Regions from separate parts of the Homo sapiens genome. Here all the other regions are linked to region 1. The links are contacts of gene promoters, found by promoter capture Hi-C in blood cells and fetal thymus (Javierre and others, 2016). All regions are on one chromosome and are shown on one strand. The core of a region is centred on a gene start or on the middle of the fragment in contact, and the rest is flanking DNA. Distances in the headings are between cores, read along the strand shown.

Region 1 (3,877 bases), core at 844-3,343:
ATAAAGGGTGCCTGACTTTTTTTTTTGAGACGAGAGTATAGCTGTCACCCAGGCTGGAGTGCAGTGGCACGATCTCAGCTCACTGCAACCTCCGCCTCCAGGATTCAGGCAATTCTCCTGCCTCAGCCTCCGGAGTAGCTAGGATTATAGGCACCCGCCACCACCCCCGGCTAATTTTTGTATTTTTAGTAGAGACAGGTTTCACAATGTTTGCCAGGCTGGTCTTGAATTCCTGACCTCAAGTGATCCACCTGCCTCGGCCTCCCAAAGTGCTGGGATTACAGTTGTGAGCCACCGCGTCCGGTCTCCGACTGTTCTTTTAACCAGATACTGTTGGACTTTTCTCCATATGATCTTTAAGTTGTTTTATTCTGTGAGCTGGGGGCGGGGGGAGTCTTTGAATTGGAATTGCTATACTTTTGTTTAGTAGTTTTGTGAAGATTTTTTTTTTTTTTTTGAGACCGAGTACTAGGATTGCAGGCATGAGCCACTGTGCCCAGCCAATTTTTATATTTTTAGAGATGGGGTTTCACCATGTTGGCCAGGCTCATCTTGAACTCCTGACCTCAGGTGATCCCCCCAGCCCGGCTTCCCAAAGAGTTGGAATTACAGGCATGAGCCACTGTGCCTGGTCTGATACGGCCTTCATGGAGAAATTAAAAAAATACTTTCCATTCAGGAATAATATGTCAGTGTGTTCTGAACTTAACTTCAGGTCTGTTAATGAGGTTTTTGTATTTTCTTCATGAAGATCCTTTATTGCTTTTGCTAATTGATTTCCAAGTTGCTCCAACCATCACTATTGTGAGTGACAATTTAATCACTATTATGGCTTAGAATTTTTTTTCTAATTTTCATTTCAAAATTGTGAAGTATTTCAACCTGCGGAGAGGTTCGGAGAGTAATAGAATAATCTATAAATAATAAAGATGACACCCATGTATCATCGAGATTTTACCTGTGTTAACATGTAGTCAGATTTTCAGGTTTTGATTTGTTTTTTCCTATCAAGCATCACAGGTGTAACTGAGGTCTCCTTTGTCTCCTCCCCAACTCTTTCCCCTCAGTTGCCACTTTCTTGAGGTTGGACAATCTATCTGGTCCATGTTATTGTTACTTTACTACTTATGTATCAATCTCTGTATAACATATAGATTTTGTGTCTTTTATTTCCAGGTAAGTTGTATCATGTGGATAAGTGCACAGTTTACTTTTCGAACTGTTTTTGGAGAACTGTCTATCTTGTATATAAGTTAGTCCTTTTTTTTTTTTTTTTTTTTGAGACGAAGTCTCCCTCTTGTCCCCCAGGCTGGAGTGTGATGGTACGATCTCAGCTCACTGCAACCTCCGCCTCCCAGGTTCAAGTGATTCTCTTGCCTCAGCCTCCCGAGGAGCTGGGATTACAGGCGCCTGCCACCACGCCTAGCTAATTTTTGTATTTTTAGTGGAGACGGGGTTTCACCATGTTGGCCAGGCTGGTCTCAAACTCCTGACCTTAGGTGAGCCCAGTCCGTTTGTTTTAACCACCCCCTATTGCTCCGTTGCACATACCACAGTTTCTCTCTTCCCTGTCAGTAAATATTTAGGCTTCCCCATGCTAAAGTTTAAGAGAACCACTGAAAGAATGAAAATGTGTAGTTTTCATTTTCAACCGGCTATTGTTACTACAGAGGAAAGTTACTGGCTTTGTTTACATTTCTTAGATCTAGTCATTTTAACAAATTAGGCCTCCCAAAATGCTGGGATTACAGGCGTGAGCCACGCACCCAGTAAATAATTATATTGCCAATGAATAATGAGTGTACTTATTCTGAATTTTAACATTATTATCTCAAAAAAAGATTATAGATAAAGAAATATTTTAGGAAATTATGCAGTAAATAAAAGGAAGGCTCTATAACAAAAGAATGATAGCATCGGGTTAAAAATCAGAGGAGACCATAGGAGAAAGTAAATGCCTGCGCGTCCGCCCCGAGGCAAGTCCACGCCAGGGTAATGAATAACCCGGTACCCGCGGCCGCCCCAGCGTTGGGCGGGGGAAGCTCGGGGACTCCGCGCACGCGCACATCCTTGTCCCGGCAGCCGCGCAAGCGCAATCGCCCGGAACATGGCTGCCGCCGGCCGCCAACCGTAAGTGCCGACGCATCCCTGAGCCCTGCGCTGCCTCCGTTTCCTGCGGAGGGAAGTCTTGGCGGGTGGAGGTCCGCCGGGTCCTTGTGGGGCGGCGAGGGGCGCGTCCGCGGGTGGGTTTCACCTGGGTGGTGGGCATGTCGGGCCCGCTAGGGCGAGGGTCTGGCCAGGGGCGTAGTTCTCCTGGTGGGTGGGGACGCTCCGTGGCGATTGGGGTCACTCCTCTGAGGACGAGGTCGCTCCGGGGCTGGTCTGGACGCCCCCGCTCTTTCCTTAGCGTCACCCGTGAGTTCCGCGCTCGCATCTCTAGCCCGCCCTCCCATAGAGACTGTTTTGCCACGCCTGCTGGGTGTCCTGGTCCGTCTCCGGGGGTAACCCCCGAGTCTGCAGCTTTTCTGTCAGGTGTGAGGGGCAGTGTAGGCTTGGGTCGGCCTCCGGCTGAATTGGCGGCCGTGAGCCAGTGGGCTGAGCCGCTTCCCCTTGAGTCTCGAAGGTGTTAGATCACCTGTGTGTTTTTCCATTTGATATTTGCAAAATCATGTTTTACTGCAATTCTCAGTGAGGGCCGCATTTTTGCACGTGTTTAGTGACCATTTTGCTGTCTTTTCCCTTGGTTTAGTGGCATATTTCCTTTGTGCAGTCTTCCAGTCTCAATATTTTATGACATAAAATGTTGGTTTAGATAGAGAAGCTGAAAGACTTGTGCAGTGAACGACCCGGTTAACGTCTGCTGAACTTACTGTATCCCTTATCTTTCCTTCTGTCCATCCTTTCAGCCATTCATTAATCCACCTATTTTTGGAAACATTTCAAAGTAAGTTGCAGATATCACAACACTTCTCCCTCAAACACCTCACTATGCTTACCATGAATTAGAGTTCAGTAGTGCTTTTTTAAATTTTTTGAGCCAAAATTGACTTTCAGTGAAATGCACAGATATTCCCTGTACCATTGATGAATTTTGACAAATGCAACCTAAACCTTTATTAAAATTACCATCAGCCTGAAAAGGTCCTTTATTTTTTGCCAAGTTAAAAAATTTGGCTATAGGAACTTGGGCTTGTTGAAGTACGTTTTGAATACCCAGTTTTTGTCTGTTTTTTCTTTTTTCCCACAGCAAGTGACTTTCCTCCATTCTACTGCTTGTTTACCTCTCTCTTCACCCAACTTTTCATTTTGAAAAGTTCCGCATTTGCATAGAAGTTGCAGGAATAGTTTAACACTTCTAAAACCATCCAGATTCTAAAATTATTAACACTTTTTGCCACATTAGCTTTATCTTTATCTTCTCCCTGCCTGAGACACATGCATAGGTGTTACCAGAAAGGGGGTCCCGAGCTATAACCCAACAGAGGGTTCTTATATCTTGGGAAAGAAAATTCAGGGCGAGTCCATAGAGTAAAGTGAAAGCAAGCTTATTAAGAAAGTAAAGGAATAAAAAAATGGCTACTCCATAGATAGAGCAGCCCCAAGAACTGCTGGTCGCCCATTTTTATGGTTATTTCTTGATTATATGCTAAACAAGGGGTGGATTATTCATGCCTACCATTTTTAGGCCATATAGGGTAACTTCCTGATGTTTCCATGACATTTGTAAACTGTCATGGTGCTAGTGGGAGCAGGACCAGAGGTCACTCTCGTTGCCATCTTGGTTTTGGTGGGTTTTAGCCACCTTTACTGCAAGCTGTTTTATCAACAAGGTCTTTATGACCTGTATCTTGTGCAAATCTCCTGTGTTATCCTATGA
Region 2 (3,877 bases), core at 423-2,922, about 21 Mb after region 1:
AGGGGCCGCCACAGTCACACTAGTCCTCTAATCATGGGTGGACCCAGCGCAAAAAGCCTCACACAGAATGTCACAAGATCCCTGTGCACGTGGCTGCGCTCCTGCAAACGTGGCAATCACACGGGTCCAGGTGGCCTCTCACATTTAAGCCACATCACGTATCACCCCCACAGGGGCCACTGCGGGAGTGGCGGCGCTCGCCGCATGAGCCCCACGCGGGCATATAGAACAGCCATTCTCAAAAAGCCTCAAAACCGTTTCACCACCCAGCGCGGTGGCTCACACCTGTCATCCAATACTTTGGCCACTGAGACGGGAGGATCGCTTGAGCCCAGGAGTTCGAGACCACCAGCCTGGGCAACATAGCGAGACCCTGTCTTTACCAAAAAAATAAAAATAAAATAAATCGTTTTGGCCTGACCCGGTGGCTCACGCCTGCTATCCCAGCACTTTGGGAGGTGGATGCGGGAGGAGCTGAGGAGGTGGAGACTGCAGTGAGCTAGGATCGCGCCACCGCAGTCAGCCTGGGCAACAGGGCATGAAGACCCTGTCTCAAAAAGAGGCCGGGCGCGGTGGCTCACGCCTGTAATCCAGCACTTTGGGAGGCCGAGGCGGGCGAATCACGAGGTCAGGAGATCGAGACCATCCTGGCTAACACGATGAAACCCCGTCTCTACTAAAAATACAAAAAATTAGCCGGGCGAGGTGGCGGGCGCCTGTAGTCCCAGCTACTCGGGAGGCTGAGGCAGGAGAATGGCGTGAACCCGGGAGGCGGAGCTTGCAGTGAGCCGAGATTGCGCCACTGCACTCCAGCCTGGGCGACAGCGAGACTCCGTCTCAAAAAAAAAAAAAGAAAAAAAAAAAGTTGAGTGAAATATATGACGTACAGTTTTTTGTTGTTGTTGTTGTTTGTTTTTTCTTGCCCGGGCAACAGGGCAAGAAGACTCTGTCTCTAAATAAATAAATAAATGGAGTCAAATATATGACATACAGTTTTGTTTGTTTGTTTGAGAAGGAGTTGCTCTGTCGCCCAGGCTGGAGTGCAATGGCGCGACCTCGGCTCACCGCAACCTCTGCCTCCCGGGTTCAAGCGATTCTCCTGCCTCAGCCTCCCGAGTAGCTGGGATTACAGGCATGCGCCATCACGCCCGGCTAATTTTGTATTTTTAGTAGAGACGGGGTTTCTCCATGTTGGTCAGGCTGGTCTCGGTGATCCGCCCGCCTTGGCGTGAGCCACCGCGCCCGGCCAAAAAAAAAATTTTTTTTTAAATCGTTTCACATACAAATCTCACGCGCTACACCCTCACCGTCAGTTCATATCCACCTTCTCCTCCGGAGTCACCTTCGGACACGCGCACAACAAAACACCTTTCTCACCACAACTCCACAAAGGGAAGCCGGGTTAGTCCGCGCCCGCCGAAAATTATCTTCAGCCACAGCCCGCGGAGGCCGCCTTGAGGGGTTCGGGGCAGCCACTGTGCCTATTCCGAAATCCGTCCTCAGCGGAACCCGAAGTCCAGAATCCGAAAACGAACATTAACAGGTTGGCGTCACTCCAGCCTCGGGTGAAACTGCGCAAGTGCATCCCGGAGCCCGGCGGAACACACCCGCTCCACCCCAGGCGCTCTCCCCTCGGACTGCATTTCCCAGAGGACACTGCTGTCCACAGCTACTTCCGGTAGGAGCCTCGCAGGAATGGTCTCCGGGTAGAGGCAGGTAAGGATGTCCCGGGCCGGTGGAGAAGGAAGAGCTGGGCGTGTGGCTTCGCTTGGAATCCGAATCAGAGCTTGGACCAGAGCCTTCCCTGAGAATGCTGAAGGTAAGAAATCCTGGCTCACCAGTGCCGCGGAAGGGAATGTCTATAGTTTTAGGCCTCTGAGTGCGGGATCAGCCCTTAGGTGGGTGTGTTTTGAATGCGTGAGGAAGTAGGGTTTCTCTTTGGGCTGTGTGTTACTGTTGGGACAGCGACCTGGTGCGTGGGTGTGCTTTAGTGACAGTGTGATTGTGTGCCTGATCATTTGTGTAAATGGGGTTTGTAGGTGACTGTGACCATGATTGTGAATGGCTATTTGTGTAAATCTCATTTATTTACGTGAAAGAAAAAGCACATTTACAGGCCGGGAGCGGTGGCTCACCCCTGTAATCCCAGCATTTTGGGAGCCCGAAGCGGGTGGATGCCCTGATGTCGGGAGTTCGATACCAGCCTGGCCAACGTGGAGAAACCCCACCTCTACTAAAAATACAAAATTAGCCGGGTATGGTGGTGCATGTCTGTAATTCCAGCTCCTTGGGAGGCTGAGGCAGGAGAATCGCTTGAACCCGGGAGGCGGAGGTTGCTGTGAGCCGAGATCGCGCCATTGCACTCCAACCTGGGCAACAAGAGTGAAACGAAACTGTCTCAAAAAAAAAAAAACAAAAAAACATTCACGTTATCCTCAGGCTCACACGATCAGGCAGAGAGCTTCCACTCCTCTCAGTCAACTCTGGTCTCTCACACACAGACACACGCACATTCACCTCACCCCGCTCCTGTGCACACATCTAAGGCTCAGGACGCCCCACTCCAGAGATCTGTCATTCATCCATCTCTCATCCTTTCCTGACTACTTGAGGAGTTAGCTGTAGATTTACACACACAACACAAGCGAAAATCACATTGCTACCCCGCATTTATCATTACAGCCTCAGAAAAACACCACATATGTAGTATGCTTATGTACCTATGTGTTTGATTTTTTTTTTCTGAGATTTGGCCACAATACACATTGTTCTGCAACTTCCTTTTTTTTTTTTTTTTTTTGAGACGAAGTTTCTCTCTTTCACCGTGGCTGGAGTGCGGTGGCGCGATCTCGGCTCACTGCAACCTCCGCCTTCGGGTTTTAAGCAGTTCTCCTGCCTCAGCCTCACGAGTAGCTGGGATTACAGGCATCCGCCACCACACCCAGCTAATTTTTGTATTTTTAGTAGAGACGGGATTTCACCATGTTGGCCAGGCTGGTCTTGAGCCCCTGACCTCGTGATCCGCCCGCATCTGCCTCCCAAAGTGTTGGGATTACAGGCGTGAGCCACCGCGCCCGGCCTCTGCAACTTCTTACTAAAAGATATTTATGTCCTTTTGTCTGTATTCAAAGACAAACTTAAGAATATTTTTCAGGATGTTTCCAGGTATGATTCTTCTTTAATTCTTACAGCACTGTACTTCAAACTAAAGACTCAAGAATTTATTTTGGTCTGCAAATTTTTGTTCTATTTATTTTTTCTCTTCCATCTGTGTTGTTTCAGCCTCTATTTTTGAAATTTCTGTTACACATACACTGGGTCTTTTGGGTCTGTTTTCTGTTTCCCTAATCTTTTCTCATAATGTTCATTACCTTTTCTTTTTCCTCTTAATTCAGTGAAAATCTACCCAGTGCAGTTCTCAGCACCCTGATCCTGGCTTCGATTTCATCATAGTATTGGGACAATGGGCTGGCCTAACTATCCCTTCTGCTGAAGGGCATGATCCTTGCTTTTCTTGAGTCTATCCTGCTGTAGCTGAGTTTCCTCATGGTTTTGAGTAAAGCTAGGATTTGTCCAAATTCCCACTAATAATTTATGTATGTATGTATCAGGTCTGGGAATAGGAGATATGAAGGGGGAAGAAAAATGTCATTCTGAATTAACATTTTGGGAGCTTAGAGGCAATAATCTCCTGTCTTTTTTTTAACTCCCCTCTCTCCCAGCAACACCTTCTTTGGATTGAGTTTCTTCCAGAGGGAACGAAGAAGAGGATTAAATAATACATTCAATTCTAAAATAAGACATGGCCCATGTAAGTTGGTTTTTTCTTGCTCCTAATTACAATACTTGATTTTTTGTTTGTTTGTTTTTGTTTTTT
Region 3 (3,877 bases), core at 758-3,257, about 21 Mb after region 1:
CACTGAATGCCCAGAGGAAGCACTGGGGCAGCAGCTGGAGAAGAGGCTATGCCCATGAGAAGGGAAGTGTATCTGGAGGTTCCAAGCAGCAGGTTCTCTTGGAAGGTAAGAGATGACTTACACTAAATTATAGTGGTATCAGTCATGTTAGCCTCTTCTTGTCTCTGACTTCTGTCTTCTCATTCCTTTCCCAGCTCCCAATCCATGAGAGCTAAAGACTGCCTATAGGGAGTAAAGAGGAGACAAAATAAAGGTTGGGGAATTAGAGAAGAAACTAATCATGTATCCTTTCACATTTCAGGCTTCCAGCAGAAGAAATTCATCCAGCAAAAAAAAAAATAAATACACACACACACACACACACACACACACACACACACACTCTCAAATAGGAATTTTGAGAGTGGCAGTTATGAGATAAAGTTTTTTTCTGTGTGGTCCCAGTGGTATTCTATTCATTTAAGCATATCAGTCATCAGTCAATACCAGGTTTCCCAATAAATGATCTTTTTTGGAAGGGAAGGGACGGAGTCTCGTTCTGTCGCCCAGGCTGGAGTGCAGTGGCGCGATCTTGGCTCACTGCAACTTCCACCTCCGAGTTCAAGCGATTCCCCTGCCTCAGCTCCCGAGTAGCTGGGGCTACAGGCATGCGCCATCATGCCCAGCTAATTTTTATATTTTTTAGTAGAGACGGGGTTTCACCATGCTGGTCAAACTCCTGACCTCAGGTGATCTGTCCGCCCCAGCCTCCCAAAGTGCTGGGATTGCAGGCGTGAGCCACCGCGCATGGGCCCAATCTTTTTTTTTTTTTTGAGACGGAGTCTTGCTCTGCCACCCAGGCTGGATTGCAGTGGCACGATCTCGGCTCACTGCAAGCTCCGCCTCCCGGGTTCACGCCATTCTCCTGACTCAGCCTCCCAAGTAGCTGGGACTACAGGCGCCCGCCACCACGCCCGGTTAATTTTTTGTATTTTTAGTAGAGACGGGGTTTCACCATGTTAACCAGGATGTTCTCGATCTCCTGACGTCGTGATCGGCCCGCCTCAGCCTTCCAAAGTGCTGGGATTACAGGCGTGAGCCACCGCGCCCGGCCCGCATGGGCCCAATCTTACCCTCTGAAAATTATTTTGCCTCTTCCTCTCCATTAAAAAAAAAAAATCACTACTTATTTTACTTGTCTAATTACCAGAGTCAAATTCTACAGGCATATATAAAATGCCCAATACTCATAAATCAATCTAAACAATGCATACTTTAGTCAACACTCGGTTTCTCAAGCACTCCACCTAAGTCACACAGTGTGCCACATTCACAGTCATCATAGGTCGTGTACACCAAATACTTTTAAAATTAGGCATATTCATAGCTGTATCACCCACTACATAGTCATAATCCCATAGGCCCCCACGTCGTGCACAATTTCACAGAACTTCTACAAAAAGTAACAACCTTTCACTCACAATGCCCTCACTGTCGCCTCTCCAGAGTCGGACACAGGCTCAAACACAAATCGACTCGCATCTAATTTAAATTAAAACTTAAGACACGCAGGGACCCTATCACTTTCATAAACAACCGGTTCCACAACGTCACACAGAATAACACATTCCCCTACCACAACACACAGGACAGGTACGAAAAGCCACACACACACACACGGAGCGCCTGTTGTGTGCCAGGCCGTGCTCCAGGAGCCAGGGGACGAAAATCAGACGAAATTCCTGCCACTGGGGAGCTCACCCCCCGCCTCGGGCAACCGGTTCCCTTCTTCAGGTGCTCCCGGGCCCGCGCTCTGGTTCCTGCTTCCCTCCCAGCCTTCTCTGAGGCCCGGACTCGCACTTTCCTCCAGCCAACTCCTCGTCCCAGGTTGCTCCTCTTCCCTTCTTGCTTTCCCCAGCCCAGGCTCCCGCCTCCCTCCTCAGCCTTCCTTACGGGTCACACCGTCACCCGCCTTCTCCGCGCCCGCGGGACCCACCAGCCTCACCTTCGGTTGCCGGCCGGGCGTCTGCGCATGCGCACTCCCACGCGGACGATGCCTCCCAGGTGTCTCCGCGGCGCGTTCCTGCTGTCCACCGGCTACGCGCGCCTTCTCCACATCCGGGCGTTTCCGGCCTTGGACTACATTTCCCACAGGCGCCCGGGCGGTTTTCGAACTTTGATCTCTGGTTCCCCTTCCAAATTCTCATAGTGCGTGGCTGGGATGAGGGCGGCGCTCACGGTGAGGAAGCCCCGAGCTCCCGGGACGCAGACAGGGTGTGCAGGGCCGTAGCTCGGGCCTGTGTATGCACCTGTGCGTGTGTGTTTGATGCCAGGACAAGGCGGCGGTGTGCGCGGCGAGGAGGCTGCGACAGGTGCGTGATTGTGTTCCTGTCCCTGCTCGGATGCGGGACCTTTGGGTGGCCGTGGTCGGCTGTCGGGTGTGTGACACTGTAGGGTTTGAGACCTTCCATCATGACAGTGCTGCTGTGGCCGTGTGATGGAAGAGCCTTTTAGGTCTGTGGTGTTGTGTGTGTAACGGGTAAAGCTTCATTTCTGCAGTGCTGTGTTTAATGTTGGGACTGAGGGGTCTGTCGAAGATCTCCCCAATGTGCCTGTGAGGACTATGATCCATGCCTATGTTAAGCAGAGTCATCTTGCAATGAAGCATGGCCCGCGTTGTCTTCTCAGGGCACACCTGTCCCCAGTTCTCAGCCTGGTGTTTGACACAGGGGATCCTGGCGGAGTGCCCACCTAAGCGGCAGTTTTAGACTCGATTGTTTCTTGGGCTCTGCATCTCTGAGTTCCCAGCTTCCTTTTTTCTCCCGCTTTATAGCTGTATAGACCCCAGCTGCAGTGAAATGGCCATCAAAAAGGGAAGGGATAATCGAGTGGTGGAATAAAATCTGCAAACAGAAAAAGGACAGACCTGTTTTCGGAACGAGGCTTTTCGAGTTGTAAGTGTCCCTTAAGCAGAGTTCTGGGAAGACGTCGTGGGGAGAACCTAGGAGTAGGATTCCTTCCTCAGAGGCTCTCCCTTGGGAACTCTCAGAGGTCAGGTTCCATGTGATCCACATCATTCCCAGAGCTGTCTCCGCAGGAGACTTAACGTGAATTTTGAGAAAGTCCCCAGTCCTGGATATCAGTGACCCTGGCCTTTCCCTTGAATACTAAGAAGGGTTAGCAGTACTCCCATCTCCCTTTTACTTCCATCTGAGTATGTTTATGGTAGATGATGAGAGCTCGTGTGGTGGCAATAATTTTTTCCAATTTAGCCAATCTGGGTTCCAAGAAAGGTCTGATGTCTCATGATTCCTTACCCCTTCTCCCTTGCCTTGAGGTTCTCTAAGAGCCCTGAGGAAAGGGAACCATTGCTGAGCATATCTGAAAACCAAGGTCAAGGAAGTTTTGTTGTATTTTCTATTTTTGTTCTCTTTGATTTTGTTTTTCAGCAAGGGAGTATTTTTTCTCCTCCTGAAATGCTAGTCAGTGGTTAGGTTACTATTAGGCAGGGCCTTGTGAGGTGCTTTGACCAATAGAATGTGGTGGAAGTGATATTGTGAGACTTCTGAGACAAAGCTTCAGGAAGTCTTGCAGCTTTTTCTCTTCCCCTTTTCCTGCCCTGAGACCACCATGACTGAAGGCTAAGAGCAACTTGCTTGCGCATTAAAGATCACTTGGAGAGAGAGGTCCAGTGAGCAACAACGGCCAGAAATTTCAGGGAGACCATCTTGAACCATCCAGCCTCCACCAGGCCAACAGCTGACAGCTGTCACATGAATATGATCAGCAGAAGAACCACTCAGGCAAGCCAAGCCCAAATTGCCAAGCCCCCCAAATAATAAGCTAATTGTTTTTTGTTTTAAGCCATAAACTTTTGAGGTGGTTATATAGCAATAAA

What was found. Contacts are between HindIII fragments. The CHiCAGO score rates a contact against its expected background, and 5 or more counts as called.
Region 2: the fragment with the promoter of ZNF461 here is called in contact with the fragment with the promoter of ZNF329 in region 1 in 4 of 17 cell types (non-activated CD4 T cells, monocytes, total CD8 T cells and 1 more); the score reaches 13.3 in non-activated CD4 T cells.
Region 3: the fragment with the promoter of ZNF567 here is called in contact with the fragment with the promoter of ZNF329 in region 1 in 6 of 17 cell types (non-activated CD4 T cells, total CD4 T cells, activated CD4 T cells and 3 more); the score reaches 16.9 in non-activated CD4 T cells.

The regions. Positions count from the first base shown.
Region 1 is chr19:58,149,005-58,152,881 of GRCh38, reverse strand. It overlaps ZNF329 (zinc finger protein 329), which reads left to right and starts at 2,093. Exons shown (of 4, transcript NM_024620.4): 1 at 2,093-2,130. RefSeq lists an enhancer at 1,957-2,016. The HindIII fragment of the contact is 7,703 bases long and covers 1-3,546 here.
Region 2 is chr19:36,664,632-36,668,508 of GRCh38, reverse strand. It overlaps ZNF461 (zinc finger protein 461), which reads left to right and starts at 1,672. Exons shown (of 6, transcript NM_153257.5): 1 at 1,672-1,819; 2 at 3,723-3,811. The coding sequence starts at 3,803. It also overlaps a transcript of ZNF567 not described here. RefSeq lists an enhancer at 1,366-1,495. The HindIII fragment of the contact is 6,595 bases long and covers 1-3,877 here.
Region 3 is chr19:36,685,742-36,689,618 of GRCh38, reverse strand. It overlaps ZNF567 (zinc finger protein 567), which reads right to left and starts at 2,007. Exons shown (of 6, transcript NM_001322917.1): 1 at 1,985-2,007; 2 at 122-222. It overlaps ZNF567-DT (ZNF567 divergent transcript), which reads left to right and starts at 2,170. Exons shown (of 4, transcript NR_110708.1): 1 at 2,170-2,351; 2 at 2,813-2,933; 3 at 3,604-3,782. RefSeq lists enhancers at 951-1,590, 2,151-2,200 and a silencer at 1,891-1,950. The HindIII fragment of the contact is 4,431 bases long and covers 1-2,526 here.